Regions from separate parts of the Homo sapiens genome. Here region 2 is linked to region 1. Evidence: promoter capture Hi-C in human tissues and cell types (Jung and others, 2019). All regions are on one chromosome and are shown on one strand. Each heading gives the region's core, a stretch centred on a gene start or on the middle of the fragment in contact. The rest is flanking DNA. Distances are from core to core; before and after follow the strand shown. Region 1 holds the start of RBFOX2 (RNA binding fox-1 homolog 2). Region 2 overlaps RBFOX2 (RNA binding fox-1 homolog 2).

Region 1 (5,541 bases), core at 1,913-4,412:
GTGACTCTAATCCCAGCTACTTGGCAGGCTGAGGCAGGAGAATCGCTTGAATCTGGGAGGCGGGGGTTGCAGTGAGCTGAGATTGGGCCACTGCACTCCAGCCTGGGAGACAGTGAGATCCTGTCTCAAAAAAAAGAAGAAGAAGAAGAAGAAAGAAGAAGAAAGAAGAAAGAAGAAAGAAGAAAGAAGAAAGAAGAAAGAAGAAGAAGAAGAAGAAGTTGTTTAAGGCTTCTCTTTCCAAGGCCCCTGGTTAAGCTTACTGTATCACTAACCAAATTAGTTGATGAATAATTACCACCTATTAAGCAGTTACTATGTTAGGCACTGTGCTAAGTGTTTACTTTTGTCCCATTTAATCCTTAGAACAACACTGTGACTATTATTGTTATCCTACAAATGAGGAATGGAAGGCTTAGTGAAACAAAGTAATTTGCCCAGCATAGTGGTTGCACCAAGGGGTTACTGGGGTGCTTTGCTTGCCGCATGTGAATCTCTAGCAGCCCCACTCAAGTCACCTTACATAATTAAAAAAAACCCAATAATAATGATAATGATATTCTTTGATCTTGACAATGAATGTTTTTTCACTCTCATTTAAAATGTGAATAAAGGTCAGGCCTGGTGGTTCATGCCTGTAATCCCAGTACTTCGGGAGGCCAAAGGGGGGGAATCACTTGAGGTCAGGAGTTCGAGACCAGCCTGGCCAACATGGTGAAACCCTGTCTCTACTAAAAATACAAAAAATTAGCCGGGCGTGGTGGTGGGCGCCTGTAATCACAGCTCCTTGGGAAGTTGAGGCACAAGAATTGCTTGAACCCAGGAGGTGGAGGTTGCAGTGAGCCGAGATCACACCACTGCACTCCAGTCTGGGTGACAGAGCGAGACTCCATCTGAAAAAAAAAAAGTGAATAAAGTGATAATGGTACTACTAATAAGCTATTATTAGTTAGCTATAAGTGTTAGCTGTAACACTTATGGAGCGCTTATCCTAAATCATTCCGTTCAAAGTTCTAAACGTGATAACATTAAATTCTTACAATAATCTTTTCAGGAAGGTATTATTGTTATCCTAATTTGCAGATGAAGAAACTGAGACACAGAGGGGGTAAGTAGCTGTCACAAGGCATCATGACTTGCAGGTGGCAGAGCTAAAACTCTGCTATTTTTACTGATTTATAACACAGCCTAAGTAATACAAACAATATGCTCAATACAACAACTCACCTTCAAGGCAAGTCCTCCCGACTTCCCTTCCAACCAGTCTGCAATCCCCAAACACCTTTTATATGGAAGTTCTTAGTCACCACTGGTCCCAGATTACGTGGGCAGGAGGTGGGAAGCCTGCGTTCTCATCTGGGTTGGTCTGACTCTGAAGCAGGGATCTTTACTGTTGTACTGTTCCAGCCCCAGCCAGGTTAAACCCAGGTTCAAAGGCCAAATCACACACTGGTTGGAAATGACCTTGGAAATCATCTAACCCAGCGTTTCTCAACCTCCGCACTATTGACATTTGGGGTTGGATAACTCTCCTGGGGGGACCGTCCTGTGCATGATAGGATGTCAAGCAACATTCCTGGCTTCTACACACTAGATGCCAGCAGCACCTCCCCACTGTAACAATCAAAAATGCCTTCAGTCGGCCAGGCGCGGCAGCTAACTCCTGTAATCTCAGCACTTTGGGAGGCCGAGGCAGGCGGATCACCTGAAGTCAGGAGTTCGAGACCAGCCTGGCCAACATGGTGAAACCCCATCTCTACTAAAAATACAAAAATTAGTTGGTGGCGCACACCTGTAGTCCCAGCTACTGGGGAGGCTGAGGCAGGAGAATCGCTTGAACCCAGGAGGCAGAGGTTGCAGTCAGCCGAGATCGCGCCACTGCACTTAAGCCTGGGCGACAGAGCGAGACTCTGTCTCAAAAAAAAAAAAAAAAAAAAAAAAAAAAATGCCTTCAGTCACTGACAAATGTGGGAGTGGAGGTGGTGGAATGGCAAAATTTCTCCTTGGTTGAAAGCCACTGATCCAAACCATCTCATTTTACAAATGATGGAGCTGAGGTCCAAAGAGATGAAGTAACTTGTTTAAGCTAGTTAGCAAAGCCAAGATTAGAATCCAGGTTATTCACGCAATATCCTTTTATTTCTATAACGTACAGGGCACGATATGGAACTCAGAGGAAGTCACTGCAGTCCTTGTCCTCACAGTCTGGTAGGGGAGAGAATCTATTGCACAGATATCTCTATCTCCACGAAGTTGGTAAGTCATAAAGTGCTCCTCAGGCAGCAAGGTACGAAGAAAGAGAATATGTTCTCGTGTTCTGAATTCCGGATCTGCCACTTTTTTGCTGCAGGATTTAACTAAGGTTCAGTTTCATCATCAATGAAATGGAGATCATGGTATCTACTTATATCACCAGTTTGAAACGGGTCTGTGGATGCATTGTGCAAACTCTAAAGCTCTTACAAACATCGGGTATTATTACTAACTTCATTAGGAATGTGAGTTATATTAGAGTAAAAGCTCTCAGAACTGGGGTGAACCATAGAGGGGTGGCTTCATTCCTCGACCTTCCAATTTGAGACATTTTTTCTTCTGCGGGAGGGGAAGCAGGCAAATAGCCTGCCTCTCACAGAGTGCCCATTCCCTCTCCGGGAACCAAGGTGCTCAGGCGAGTAAACTCAGGACTTAACTCTGTACAACTAGTACCGCAAGCAGGAGCCACTCCCTGGCCTTCGGGTCTCTCAAGCCCCGCCTGCTCCAGGATACGGCCCCGCCCAGAAAGGAGACAGACCCCGCCCCCCCCGCGCTGCCCCGCACTCCAGCCGCGCTGTGCCTCCAGGACAATCCCAGGCCCGTGCCGGAGATTCCCGAGCTTCCCCGATCGCTTCCCGGCCTCCCTCGGGCAGCCAGCGAGGAGACTACGGAGATTGCCGAGGGGGCCTGGCCCCGCCCCCCCCGCGGGCCGCCACCGCCCCCCTCGCCGTAGCCTCCCGCGCGGGCTGGAGTTCTACATCCCGGTCCCTCCCTCCCTCCCTCTTTCTCTCTCCCCGCCTTCCCGGTGCTGCCACAGTGGCGGGTCGGAGGATCCCGGCCAGTCAGCTCGTTCCTGCCTCGCGCCCCTCCTCCCCCCAAAATAAACAGCCCTCCCCACGCCTCGGGAGCCCGGACCGCCCCCTTCCTCCCTCGGCCGGCGTGCTGTGAGGGAGAGTGTGAGCCAGCGCGGCCGGTGGGCGAGCTCCGGGAGTGCGAGAGGCGGGGCGGCGCGGCGGGCCGGGCCGGGTTTCGCGTGTGCGTGCGGGGGCGCGAGCGAGTGCTCATCACGACCCGCCAGTGGCCCCGCGCCGACAACCCGGCGGGCGGGCGGGCGGGGAGCAAGCGGTCAGGCAAGGAGCGGCGGCCGCGAGGCGCGGAGGGGCGCGGAGTCCGCTCGCGCGCACGCACGCACGCACGCGGGGGCGGGGGCAGGCGCGCGCCCGCCTGTCGCGACAGTCGGGGCCGAGGCCCAGGGGGAGGTGGCCTGTCGCGGGTCGCCCGGCTCCCGGAGGCGAGGGGGGCGCGGGCGGATGGCGGAGGGCGCCCAGCCGCATCAGCCGCCTCAGCTCGGGCCCGGCGCCGCCGCCCGGGGCATGAAGCGGGAGTCGGAGCTGGAGCTGCCGGTGCCCGGAGCGGGAGGAGACGGAGCCGATCCCGGCCTGAGCAAGCGGCCGCGCACTGAGGAGGCGGCGGCCGACGGTGGCGGCGGGATGCAGGTGACCGCGCGGGACGGGGCGCCCAGTTATTGCGGGGGTGGGCGTGAGGGTCGACACCGGGCTCCCCGGCTTGGAGAGAGGGAGGGCCTCCGGGAGTCCTGGGTTGGAGGTGGGATGGGGGGCCATTCGGGGCCTGGTTGGAAGGTGGGGCGAGCTCGGGCTAGGAACGAAGGTTGCAGGACTGAACCTGGTGTGCCCGAGAGGGTCCTGATTCCTGAGGGGCCAGGAGGCACGACGAGTGGATAGGTTTTGGGGGGAAATCGAACAAGGTTGAGATGGATTCCATTTTTTCAAATCCTTCCTTAGTGCCTTGGGGTGGAGTGGAAGCCGGGAAATCCTGGCTTCTCTGGACTGAGTCGAGGAAAAGGAGATCTGGTGGGAAACCTCCCGAGAAGAGGGAGTACCTTTTGGCAGCCCTGGGCACACGCTGGGATGGGGAAGAGAAGTGGCATTTCAATGAGAGGAGTGAAAAGAAAACTCCTCGAGAGAGCCCCGAGGGGATGTGGCTGAGATTGTGGGTTAAATCACACAGAGTGTGAGAAGTACAAGGAGTTTGGTAATGTTATGGGGACACGGTGGTGCTCAGTCTCATTTACTTTGTGGAGCATACTAATGAGTCTGAAGGGAGACACTAGACATGTCCCTCCTGTTCTTTGCCAATTGCATTCTACATCACCAGGACACAAAATAGCTCTTTAATGTCCCGGGCTATAAAAAAAATTTTTTTATAGGGCTATTAGAAGACTGGATTCTCAATTCTGGATTGAAAGATAAACGTGGTTAATTTGGGTAGGGAATGGGAAAGGTATTGATGTCAGCTGACTTCATAGTTTTGAAGAAGACCTTGAAACCTTTGGAGGTTTTACGATTTGGTCTTTGCCCAGAAAATACTGCTATGACATGATGAGTCTCACCTACCAACAGTTGTGCAGACTTGTGCCTAATTCTCTCGGAGTCATAGGATGTTAGAGGGATGCTAGGAGGACTAGACATCATCTTTTCCAGGGGTTCTTAACCTGGGAAGACTTGGAAGATTCTTACTCATAGTAGGTGATGTGCACTTTTTGGTGGAGGAGAGTCAATAGTTTTCATCTTTGTTTTTTTTGGAGGAGATTCAAGTCCCAGCTTGTTTTAACCACCTTATTTTATAGATGGGGAATCAGAAGTCCAGAGAAGATGGTGACTTGGGTAAGGCCACCCAGTTAGCTAATAGTAAAACTAGAACTAGAAGCCTGGTCTTCTAATTCCTATTCCTGTGCTGTCTCCATTACACCACTCTTGGAAATCTCTGCAGTGCTAAAAGACTTCCTGTGCTCTGCTCCCTGCTTTTCAAGCCTCTGCCTGACTTCCTGTGTTAGGGACAGAGCTGTACTTAAGCCTAGCATGTTTGTTGTATGCTTCTTGGTCTCCTTTGCAGAGTTTACCCTGTTACTTCTGTTGATTTAGGTAAAGTGACCCTCTTGGTGTTTATTTTTGAATTCTTTTGTTTTGTTTGCCTGCTTTTATTTTCCATTAGAACTCTGTCAGGCAGAGGGATTGTGAGAAGTAAAAGCTCAGGGCCATGGCAAAAAAGACAGGAATGTGGGAGACTTCAGGTGAGGTGAGCTAATATTGGATGATAAGGAGGGAAGACTGGATGTAGGTGCTGGTGAGCAGGTTCTACTTGGTGTGTGTGTGTGTGTGTGTGTGTGTGTGTGTATGTATTCATTTATCATTTCTGTCAATCCTAGTTAATAGTGAGACCCCCGTCCCTTTCCCTCATTTACTCCTGGGGCCTATTATCTGTTGGTTGCCT
Region 2 (5,541 bases), core at 1,764-4,263, 270 kb after region 1:
TTTGGTGGGCGAAGCTAGAGTAAATGGAGTTTCAAGCTCTTTCCTCATATGGGGGATTATCACTGTACAAATCTTAAAAGACATAGGAAGAGGTTTTTTTTTTAGTTCTAATTCTACCTAAAATTGGTCTTTTCATAACAAAAATTTATTACCATACAAATTGAACACAATGTAAATTTGAAGAGGCAAAAATAAGACATTTATATTTTATGCTTCTTTTTTCAATTGGCATGTTTTATGACCTGACAACACAGTATAAGTCAAGTTCTATGGTGGAGCTTTACCCTCCTTGCAAGAGCTTTGAGACTGGTTCTGTCACTGGGCTGCAGTATGCTGACATCTTAGTTCCATTCATCTTTTCTTCAGCAGCAGCATCTTTGTAACACCTACTTACTCTAGCACTGAGAATGCTTTAAAATATGCAGTTCTGTAATGAGGGTGGAGAGTACCATAAAACAAAATAAATAAACACTTTATTTTCTCAATTCTTTTAAGTGCCTACTTTAAAGGCTTTCTTAAAAGCTTTGTTCTTAAATTGATAGACCATGTAGTCTAGAAAATTCAGAATGGTCCTGAAGGCTGTCAGCAGGGGAATCTTAGGTTTCTATATTTGTTTACTTACCTCAGACAGTAAAAATCTCTGACAGACATATTTAAAATGCTGAACATTAGGACAGGTGAAATCAGATTTATTTTATCACCTTTCCATCAATCTATTTCATAACCCATGTGGCAAGCCTCTGTTTTATTAACAGACTTCAAAGTGAATTGCTAATATAGTTTCCTATTTACTTTTTTCTGTGTTTTCCTTAGTGCAGAGATTTCTCTGTTAAAAAGATGTCCAAAGATCTTGCAAATGTATTTTCTTTGGAGTACTGATATTTGGAAACCAAGAAACTCACTTTACTCTTGTTATCCTCATTTGATAAGAACTTTAATTAAAATACTATATATTAATATTTTATATTGCTGTGTTAATTATTTAAATCACTGCTCTCAGAAATTTACATTTTAAACTAAATACTCTGTTATTGGATGTGCAACTTTATGTTCCCTAATGTGGTCCACTTCTTCCCTGCCCTTTTTTCTCCTTGTTATTTTTAGGTGAATAATGCTACAGCACGTGTAATGACCAATAAGAAGATGGTCACACCATATGCAAATGGTAAGAAATTATAATCTTCGAAAGAGTGTTTATTCTTGTGTAAATATATGAAGTTTTTATAAACTTCTAAGAATGTCTTTATTTCCGTCTTAAGACAGTTTGATTTGTGTTGAAGTAGTCTCTTTACCTGGGAGAGTATTTTATTTTTACAGAATAACTTTGTCATTACAATTGAGCTAAGTTTTTAGTTATTAAGGTGTTATGTTCTAAGTAATGTTCATCTTTTACACAGTGCAAACATGCTATCTAGTTGCCTATTAACCCAAATTGGATCCCACCTGAGCACCTTCTTTTTCAGCTGCTGTAGCTCTTTCTAATATGTTAGACTTGTCCGTAATACCCCTGGATGCCCACTGACTCTTACTTTTAGTTCTGACTTTCATTCATCTGAGCATAAGTGGAATAAATTAGGAGGATATTTTAATCACTTTTATAATTCTGGACCTGTTGCTCTCCTTAGCCCTAGAGATAACAGCCATGGGTATGGTTGTGTGTGTATCATTTTCTGTTTCATGATTACATATTATATAGTAAGGTTTATAAGTTTTTCTCATTGAGAAGGAAATTTTCTATGAATAATTTGTTACATCAGTTACCAAATTTAATCTAGACTCATGGTCTCTGAATGAGATGGAATATAAATTTAATCTGTAGCCCAGTGGTGGTTTTGCAGACTGTTCTGCAGAGCCAGTTTGGGAGAGAAAAAGGAAACCAAATGGATTGAATTCTGAGGTCTCAGCTGTACTTTAGTCTGAGCAATTAGGGTTCTGCATAAGCTTTTACTAATATCTAGAATAAAGGGGGGAGTTTCTGCTGGAGTTTTTTTTTTTTTTTTTTTGAGACGGAGTCTCGCTTTGTCACCCAGGCTGGAGTGCACTGGCGCAATCAAGGCTCACTGCAAGCTCTGCTTCCCAGGTTCACGCCATTCTCCTGCCCTCAGCCTCCCGAGTAGCTGGGACTACAGGCGCCCGCCACCACACCTGGCTAATTTTTTGTATTTTTAGTAGAGATGGGGTTTCACCGTGTTAGCCAGGATGGTCTCAACCTCCTGACCTCGTGATCCGCCCACCGTGGCCTCCCAAAGTGCTGGGATTACAGGCGTGAGCCACCATGCCTGGCTCTGCTGTTTTTTTAAAAAGTTTGAACCCACTGCTAGAGTATGGCTGTATGTGCTAATAATGTCTTAAATCAAGGAGAAATGTATCCGTATTGACTATATCCCATAAAGTCTTCAATAAATATATTTAGCCCAGCTTTTCACATAGATGATACAAATTTATCAGCATAATTTGCATTTTTCCTTACTCCTTTTATCGGTATGATACCACTGCCTCCCACTTTACCTCTTATTTTCTTTTCACTGCTCTTACAAAAACAAGTCTCTACAATTTTGATAAAAACTCAAAGTAAACAAAATAGAAAGGAGAGGCAAAGAATGTCAAATTTTCTTTACATCTAAGGGAAATATTGTGACAGAAAGAGCCTCTGACTGGAATTCAGAAAACAGACGTTCTCCTTCTAGGTTTGACTCTTTATTTACTCCGTGACAGTGGACCAGTTTTTTAACCTAATTCTGTTTTCATATTTATAAATTGAGACCACAGATTTTTGGCACCAGGATTTTTTAAGAAATTATTGAAACTCAACCCTCCCAGCTTATTATTAGGAAATGAGACCCAGAAAAGTATAGTATTGACCTCAGATTGCAGATGTGGTATCTATTTTACCTTCCTCTTTGGGTTTTGTGAAGGTCAAAGGGCATCTGTGAAAATACATTGTAAATTTTCTAAAACTAAATATATTCAAAGTATTACTAACAACATGTCAATATACATCCATTATATTGATTTTTGTTTTTGTTTTGAGGCAGAGTCTCTCTGTCACCTAGGCTGGAGTACAGTGGTGCGATCTCAGCTCACTGCAACCTCCACTTCCCGGGTTCAAGCGATACTCGTGCCTCAGCCTCCAGAGTAGCTGGGATTACAGGTGTGTGCCACCACATCCGGCTAATTTTTGTATTTTTAGTAGAGACGAGGTTTTGCCATGTTGGCCAGGCTGGTCTCGAGCTCCTAGACTCAGGTGATCCCTCCGCCTCAGCCTCCCAAAGTGCTGGGATTACAGGCTTGAGCTACGGTGCCTGCCCATTATGTGGATTTAAAGGGAATGCTCAGGCAATAGTGGCATTGGTAGGAAAGAAAAAGGTTATTTTTTAAAATATTATTCTAAATTAATATTCAGGTTTAGTAGGCAAGAAACCTTCTGCTATTGTGTTAAAGGTCCTAAGAAGAATTTGTTGGGTTCCTCCTAATGAATTCTCAGTCAGCATTCTCATTTAGGTTGGTTGGAATCTCTTAATTTGTGCAGAAATGTTGCACAGTATTTGTGTAATTTGATGTTGCAGAATATTTGTGTTCTTACAATTCAAGTAGGATTTGAACCTAGATTTTGCCAGAATTTTATGTGGAATATTGAAGAGACATTGCATTTTATGAGCACATAAAATGATGAATAAGAGATTGGATTGAATCAGAGTGAATAGGTTTTCACTTGAATAATGTCTTGCTTACAGTCATTTAAATCTGGTAATTTCAATAATTCTTTTGAAAAGGCCAATTGTGGCTGGACGCAGTGGCTCAAGCCTGTAATCCCCAGCACTCTGGGAGGCTGAGGCGGGTGGATCACCTGAGGTTAGGAGTTCAAGACCAGCCTGGCCAACATGGTGAAACCCCATCTCTACTAAAAGTATAAAACTAGCCAGGCATGGTGGCACGTGCCTGTAGTCCCAGCTACTTGGGAGGCTGAGGCATGAGAATCACTTGAACCCAGGAGCCGAGGTTGTGGTGAGCCGAAACTGCGCCACTGCACTCCAGCCTGGGTGACAGAGCAAGACTCTGTCTCAAAAAAAAAAAAAAAAAAAAAGAGGAGGCCAATTCTGGCCTTTTTCTTTTCATTCGTATATTTATAGAATAGTGTGGCACAATGCTAGGGTCTTAATATAAAAAGACAAATGAGTCAGAAAATATATAATATAGAGTATTTTTGCTTATATGTAAAATTCAGTTAATATTGATTAAAGTTTTCATGTGGAATTCTACTTTTATTCACTCGCAGTGAGCAATCGTATATTATTCCTTTTTAAAAAATACTTGCCATATTCCTATAAATATAAAAAAGGGAAAGAAGAAATAAAGTTGACATTAAACATAATGTTATTTGGAAACTCTTAATATTTATAAATATTTAAGCTAATGTTCCACAGTATTCTGGTGTTCTTTAGCTAAGAAGTCTGATTAACTTAAAGGTGATTATTACACATTAAAGCCTCAGAAAACATGCACTGAAGTTGGGAATGTACCTTGAATTTTACTATTTCATGTCTTTCCTTTTTTAGTTGGTGAACCCCAGTAAAATCCCAATGGTAAATCCGAGTAAAAGTGGATTTCAGTTTACCTGGAATACCAGCATTGTATAGCCAAACATGGAGTCAAAGATCTAGGTTGAATTTGAGTTCAGCCCATGGATACCTTTATTAAAACAACTAGAGTAATAAACAGGGTTGAGAAAATGCATCACAGCATGGTTCAGAGTGACATATAGTCGGCCTTCTTTTTTTAAATGAAGGATAGGTCATCCAGGGTAATTCTGTGAGAACACTTTACCAAACTCTAGGATTTATTTCTATTTATTTTTTCTCCTCTCATTCCCTCTCCATCTTCCTCCTCCCAACATCATGACACCTGCCAAGCCCCCCAGCCCCAGCCCCTCATTATCTCTTCACTGTGTCCTAGTTCTACTACTGTTACTCTCTCATATAAACCCCAAGCTGGAATTCCAAAGAGAAGTTGATAATAGGCAAAAATAGCCCCAGAGATGGCTGAAGCCAACTTGACATGCACTGATCATCCCTTTCCTCAAACAGTCTTAAATGCTTACCTTCCATTTTGTGTGTTTCAGGTTGGAAATTAAGCCCAGTAGTTGGAGCTGTATATGGTCCGGAGTTATATGCAGGTAGTATTTAAGTAAATGTTTCCACTTGTGCTATTTAATTGTAATAGCATCTGCTGTTTTTCAATTTGTGACTCCTTTTTAATCTTCTTGCATTTTTAAATTTTTTAAAAATCCAATCAGCATCCAGCTTTCAAGCAGATGTGTCCCTAGGCAATGATGCAGCAGTGCCCCTATCAGGAAGAGGGGGTATCAACACTTACATTCCTTTAATCAGTAAGTAGCCTATGTTGGCCTGGCATGGATTTTGACTGTTGTGAGTGAACTATCATGTACTGTTTTTTTTTTTCCTAGTACAGTACATAACTGAAATGGAAATTTCTTGAGAGGGATATTAAATACTATCCCAGTGCCCTGTCCTGCTTAACCTG

Evidence for each region. Contacts are between HindIII fragments. The study calls those that stand out against the background at their distance.
Region 2: a fragment that was not itself captured here is called in contact with the fragment with the promoter of RBFOX2 in region 1 in 1 of the 25 tissues and cell types used here (dorsolateral prefrontal cortex).

What each region holds. Positions count from the first base shown.
Region 1 is chr22:36,026,445-36,031,985 of GRCh38, reverse strand. It overlaps RBFOX2 (RNA binding fox-1 homolog 2), which reads left to right and starts at 3,162. Exons shown (of 14, transcript NM_001349999.2): 1 at 3,162-3,746. The coding sequence starts at 3,561. RefSeq lists a silencer at 2,927-2,996. The HindIII fragment of the contact is 7,839 bases long and covers 21-5,541 here.
Region 2 is chr22:35,761,047-35,766,587 of GRCh38, reverse strand. It overlaps RBFOX2 (RNA binding fox-1 homolog 2), which reads left to right. Exons shown (of 14, transcript NM_001349999.2): 7 at 1,105-1,165; 8 at 5,120-5,173; 9 at 5,294-5,386. Among named protein-coding and RNA genes, the nearest start is that of APOL5, 46 kb to the right of the region's middle. The HindIII fragment of the contact is 3,561 bases long and covers 1,233-4,793 here.